2 separate regions of the Homo sapiens genome follow, and region 2 is linked to region 1. The links are contacts of gene promoters, found by promoter capture Hi-C in blood cells and fetal thymus (Javierre and others, 2016). All regions are on one chromosome and are shown on one strand. Each heading gives the region's core, a stretch centred on a gene start or on the middle of the fragment in contact. The rest is flanking DNA. Distances are from core to core; before and after follow the strand shown.

Region 1 (3,138 bases), core at 233-2,732:
AGATATTAACAAAATACAACAATTATACTGTAATAAAAGTTACGCTGATGGGCTACTATTAAGTAAAACAAGGGTTCTGTGAACAGAAGCTCTTGGATACCCACAGCGTATCTGATACCTAGACGGCTACTGGGTGACCAACAGGCAGGTACCGTAGACAGCGTCAGCTTTCATCCCACTGCTTAGAAGAATGGTGTACAATTTAAAACTTAGGAAGTGTTTATGTCTGGAATTTTCCATTTAATATTTTCAGACCGAGGGGGACTGTGGGTAATAAACCATGGAAGGCAAACCCACGGATGGAGGCACTACCGTGTTCTGCCAAAATATGCTGGCTGAAGCCAGGGTTTACTGAAGGCAGAATGCTTCCTGTTTCGGCTGCTGGCCCTAATCCTCGCGCCAGAAAGGACATTGCTGGGTGTGGCTAAGTGCCCAAGGAGTGAAAAGAAGCACACAGAACAACTTTTGTCTAAAATTCACTGCAGTAGAAGAAAATGACACTGATAATCATGAGTAGAAGACTAAAACGACGTGTGCATCCCAATGTGTGAACTAGAGCAAAACTCACCTGTAAGAGTAAAGGGTGAAAATCCCATTGTGGCTGAGTTTTGCGCCTCCACCATAAGCACCGCCTTTTTCTCGAATTTCTGTATGCAAGAATTTGGCAGTCATCAAACGTGCAAGGATTTTAAGACTGAAATGATTAAAAAATGCAAGTTAATACCGTGGCTGATAAAAAAGCATAGACAATGAAGTAATTGTTGGATTAAGTGAAAATGAAAATCGAGTTGTAAAATAATGCTGCATAAATTATGGTCCCATATTTTGGTCTTGTTTTTTAAGAGATGGGGTCTCGCTCTGTCGCCAGGCTGGAGTGCATTAGTGCAATCACAGCTCACTGCAGCTTTGAACTCCTGGGCTCAAGGGATCCTCCCACAACAGCCTCCTGAGTAGCTGGGCCTACAGGTGTGTGCCACCACGCCTGACTATTTTTACAGTTTTTGTAGAGGCAGGGTCTAGCTTTGTTGCCCAGGCTGGTCTCAAACACCTGGCTTCAAGTGATCCTCCTGCCTTCAAAGTGCTGAGCTTACAGGCATGAGATTTTCTTTTCAATTAACCAAAACTAAAAAGCACAAGGAAGCACAATTTTCAAACAGTTGGCTTAGATTACAGGGTTGAAGGGAGAGGTGGTGGGGAGGGAATCTTAACACTTCCAGCACCACACTGCTTAACTTGTTCCAATGCACATGTGGCATTTTTAAAATCTCGTGAAGTAGAAAGAGGTTATTTCTATTATAAAGGCAAATGAGCAAATGAACATTTATTTAAATGTCTCACATCAGAATATGGAAAGAAAGGAAACTGAAGTGAGTTTTATAAGAATCCCTTAAGAAAACACACACTCTCTGATAAAGCACATTTCTAGGAACAGGGCCAATTTCCTCTGCCTTCCACTGTGAACGGTAACATCACATTCAAGCTGATTCTAGAACACATCCACCTCCGACAGAAGGCGGGGCAGACAATGATGGGAGGGTCTGCAGCACAGACACAGGCTCCTTGAAGACGCCCGTGGTGAGATCAGCCCCAGGTCGCCGCTTCCACAGACAGGCCTTTTCCTAAAGTGGATGAAGGGAGTCAAATAGGCCAGGTGGGAAATCAAGGAAGGAGTGGGCGTGTTCCCAGGGGCTGTGGTGGGAGAAGTCACGACCATCTCGTGTGGGTCCTCCAGGAGAAACCCAGCGCCACTCGGGTGGCTGGGGCGCCGTCAGCCGGGACTAGCGAGGCTGGAGTCAGACCCTGGGGGACGGAGTCTCCACCAGCACCGGCAGGGATGGCGTTCCATCCGTCCACACATTATCCTTCCTGAGAAATTTCTATTACTTGTATATTAAAAACATGCTCACTTTTGAAAGATTATAAAATACAAAACACAAGGAAAAAAAGATCTGGAATCCCACTGCCCAGGGGGAACCTCCACATTTTTAGTGTTTTCTGTCTACATTTTCCTGTTGGATAGTGGAAACAGACACCACTCTTCTGCCGGCATAGCAGACAGATCTGTTCATCTTCTACAAATATGGAAATAAATGAACAAAACAGCTGACCACATACTTCTACAGCCAGCTCTTTCTGGGCCCCCACTGCAGCCCCACGTTTCTTCCCGCCTGCCTCCTACACACCTCCCCATCTGTGACCCTCTGTGACACACGTGCACCTCGGAGGCCCGGCTCCTTCTCCAATCAGGACAGGCTGCCCAGGCCTAAGCCTGCCTTCCCCCTCTCTACCAGGCTCACTCCTTGGTTTAGTCCCTCATGGGGGTAGCTGCCTGGGACAAGGACACAGGAAGTGAATTTCCGGGATATAACATGTTTGCACATATCTGTGTCATACACACCCAACTGACGGGTCCCCAAAGGTGCACGTCTGTGAGTCTGTCCTGGTCTGGCCAGTTTCCCCAGATGGGATGAACACAGCCAAGGGGCAGCCAGAGTTCGGAAGAAGGGGCTGGAGGGCCAGTCTGTAGGCTGCAAACTCCCTCGCCCCACGCCACTTTGGGAACAGGCCTGACCCTGACTCTTGGCTGTGGCTTCGGCTGCTCAACCCAGGGCCTCCTTCCCTGAGCTTCTGACTTGGTGGGGAGACAGGGGAGACAAACTCCTTAGAGGGACTGTGAGGCGGCCTCCAGCCCTGCCATCTGCAGGGCTCTGCAGGACCACCTGGTTTCTCCCCACTGCCCTGTCCCTCTGTGGCCCCAGGTCAGGCACCCCCCACCCACCCAGAGTCTGGCTCACGAGGTTCTCCTGCAGCCCCCATGGCTCTCCGGGTCACCTCCCACTCTTTCCCTTGTAGCTTCGTGTCTTGATCTGCCTTTGCTGTCATTCACGCATCTGTCCTCATGAAGGCTTAACCTACCATGTTTATCAGAAATCTCAGCCTAAATTCATTCGATTTTTACCTAGAGATGAGGTGAGTACATGGGGCATGTTGAAAGCAGTCTGTGTTTAAGGTCATAGGTATCTGTATTGTTCATAGGACTCCTCAATAATAGAAATTGTTTACAAAAATGACTGGCTCTAAAACTGGGTCTCTGTTCACAAAGACTGCTGGTTAAAGAGGAGCACTCGTAGACTCACA
Region 2 (3,138 bases), core at 309-2,808, 2.1 Mb before region 1:
CAGTTGTAACTGGATTTGGATGCTGTTTGAATTTGAACTCTGGGAGATGTTCTGGAACATTTTAATACTTTAATAAAATAATGAAACTGTGATGGGAACGACCTCTGTCTGTCATTTTCCAGCATGATGCAGCCAGCCTGATAGTAAAGTAGGAAATCGAGTCTCTGGTTGTCCGTTAGCTGACTTCATGGCCTCAGACAGGTCACAGCTTCTCCCATTTGGGAAATGTTTTCTTTGATCAATTGAAGCATACAGAGTAATAGAATCAAAGGTGGAAGAGATATCAGTGGTCGTGTAATTTCCCATTTTTAGAGTATTTGTCTTATTCTTTCATTTGAAAAACTATAAACTGATGATAGCTAAGTTCCGACTTCTTCATTTCCATCTTGCAGATCACACGGCTTTGCTGTGGAGCATAGAGACAGGGAAGTGCCTAGTCAAGTACGCAGGCCACGTGGGCTCAGGTAAGCACTGCCTAAGGAGTGCCGTAGCCAGAGGCCGTTGCCTTCTCCAGTGTGTTTTTAAAATCGTGCATGATAAAGCCAGCTGCTACTGTGTAGGAAGCCTTACTGTTTCGGTTGTCAGGGGACAGTGTGGTCTGTTCAGAGACTGGGATAACTCTGTCTTGAGCTTGTATGGGCTCAATAACAGGGAAAAGCTTAACTCCCTAAACAATGTACATATCATGTTAGTCTGCATTTTATTTAATATTGTATATAACCCATATGTAGGAAATTTTGTAACTGAAATGTGTGCGTTATTTTTCACAAAATACATATCTGTTTTAGAGGTTTACTTTTGATGTAGTGATAACTTGGATGTATTCAATAAAGGATACTCCATGAATGTGCTTGCGTGCCCGTAGTTAATGCTGTCCACGGAGTGAATGCTGTCCACGTAGTTAACGCTGTCCATGTAGTTAGTTAACGCTGTTCACGTAGCTCTTTTCTGCCTTTTCACTTAGAGCTGTGTGTGTACCAGTTTCCTGACCAGACTTTGTTTCTGTTTCCTCTCGCACGTGCTGTGTGGTTCCTTCCCCCGCAGTGCCCTCTTCACTTGCTCACTCGCCCTCCCTCACACCTCCACGCTGCCAGGCTGAGAGGTGGCATCGCCTGTGTGCACAGAGGGACAGGTGTGGGTGGGGCCCGTGGCTCTGAGCGCCTGTCTGCCCGTCCACAGGGCCCTGATGAGCTGTGGAGCCTTCCCCTCCCCTTTCCCAGGACCTCCTCTCCTTTGGCCATTCCTGCTGTCACAGTGTCTTCTCTTTCTTGCCCTGGACATTTCCCCTTAGTGTGTAGACAGGCTGGCGCCTTTCCCGTGTTAGACCCCCTCCTCCGTGCTGCCTTCTTACCTGTCTTCCTCCCCTGGCATCCCACAGACTGGCTGGGGTGCCACAGTGTCACCTGCAGTTTTCTAGCAGTGCCTGGCGTGTGTGTGATTGGTGCTCAAATGTAGAGCAAAACGCTGTTACAGGAACGAGTGCTGTATTCTGTTTCCTCCTTCAAATTTCCTCTTCAGAAACGTTAAAAAAATTAAATATATGTGCATAGGTTAAAAACTTAAGACTTGAAAATCGAAATGACTCCTTGATCCCTGGGCTACAGAATGGATGTTGTGTTAGTAGGCATGAAATCAGCATTCATCTTGTACATCTCCATCAGAGCTCTTAGGTGAGCAGGTGCGTTGTCAATGAGCCAGTTGTATTATGATAGGTGTAGGTCTTAATGGTAGGCTTAAAATACTCAGTCAACAATGCTGTCATCAGATGTACTGTCATCCATGCTTTGTTGTTCCATTTATGGAGGACAGGTAGAGGAGATGTAGCGTAATTCTTAAGGGCCCTGGGATTTTTGAAATGGCAAGTGAGCATTGACTTCAGCTGAAAGTCACCAGCCGCATTCGCCCCTAACAAGAGTCAGCCTGTCCCTTGAAGTTTCGAAGGCATGGATGTCTCCTTTCTAGCTAGGAAAGTACTAGACAGCATATTCTTCCAATATAAGGCTGTTTGTTTGCATTCAAAACCTGTTGTTTAGAGTAACCATCTTCACCAATGAGCTCAGCTGGATCTTCTGGAGAACTTGCTGCAGCTTCTCCATCAGCACTTGCTGTTTCACCTTGTACTTTTATGTTGTGGAGACGGTGTCTTAAACCTCATAAACAACTCTCTGCCAGCTTCCAGCTTTTCTTCCGCAGCTCCCTCACCTCTCACAGCCCTCAGGGAATTGAGAGTCAGGGCCCTGCTCTGAATTAGGCTGCAGCTAAAGGGAATGTTGTGGCTGGTTTAATCAGTCCCCACCACTCAAACTTCCTGTGTATCGGCGTTCTTGTCATTTGTGTGTTCACTGGAATAGTGCTCTTACTTTCCTTCGAGAACTTTTCCTTTGCATTCAGAAGTTGGCTGTTTGGTGCAAGATGCCCAGCTTTCAGCCTGTCTCAGCTTTTGACTTGCCTTCCTCACTAAGCTTAATCATTTCTAGCTTTTGATTTAAAGGGAGCAATGTGCAACTCTTCCTTGCATTGGAATACTTAGAGGCCATTGTAGGGTTATGAATTGGCCTAATTTTAGTATTGTTTTGTCTCGGAGTAGAGAGGCCTGAGCAGAGGGAGAGATGAGAGAAAGGCTGGTTGGTGGAGCAGTCATAACTCCCACAACATTTATTGAGTAAGTTTGTGGTCTTATGTGGGTGTGGTTTGTGCCTCTCCCCAAAATGACAATGGTAGCATCAGAGATCACAGGTCACTATTAACAGACATAATAATAATGCAAAAATCCAAGGTCAAGGTGCTGGCAAAAAGAAATTAAAAAAAAAAAAAGAAAAAGTTTGAAATATTGCAAGAATTACCAGCGTGTGTCACAGAGACGTGAAGTGAACACATGCTGTTGGGAAAATCGTGGCAATTAGGTGTTCAACGCAGGGTTGCCACAAACCCTCAATTTGTAAAAAATCCAGTACCTACAAAGCACAGTAAAGTGAAGGGTAATAAAACGGGGTATGCCTGCATCCACACATAGACGTGTACATACACGCATAGTCATTTCTGTTCTCTAGAGGGGATTTAATTTTCCCTTGGCCAGCAGATAGAGTGGACGGCAAGCCTTGATTGACTTAAGGGTTGGTGGCCGGTGGGTTTCAGGCT

Evidence for each region. The method cuts DNA at HindIII sites, captures the fragments that hold promoters and counts their contacts. A CHiCAGO score of 5 or more calls a contact.
Region 2: a fragment that was not itself captured here is called in contact with the fragment with the promoter of PITRM1-AS1 in region 1 in 2 of 17 cell types (M2 macrophages and megakaryocytes); the score reaches 5.7 in M2 macrophages.

What each region holds. Positions count from the first base shown.
Region 1 is chr10:3,140,119-3,143,256 of GRCh38, forward strand. PITRM1-AS1 (PITRM1 antisense RNA 1) reads left to right here and starts at 1,483. Exons shown (of 4, transcript NR_038284.1): 1 at 1,483-1,651; 2 at 2,854-2,970. PITRM1 (pitrilysin metallopeptidase 1) reads right to left here. Exons shown (of 27, transcript NM_014889.4): 24 at 569-694. RefSeq lists enhancers at 1,223-1,724, 1,725-2,224. The HindIII fragment of the contact is 14,067 bases long and covers 1-3,138 here.
Region 2 is chr10:1,085,894-1,089,031 of GRCh38, forward strand. It overlaps WDR37 (WD repeat domain 37), which reads left to right. Exons shown (of 14, transcript NM_014023.4): 7 at 393-464. Among named protein-coding and RNA genes, the nearest start is that of WDR37, 31 kb to the left of the region's middle. The HindIII fragment of the contact is 1,804 bases long and covers 657-2,460 here.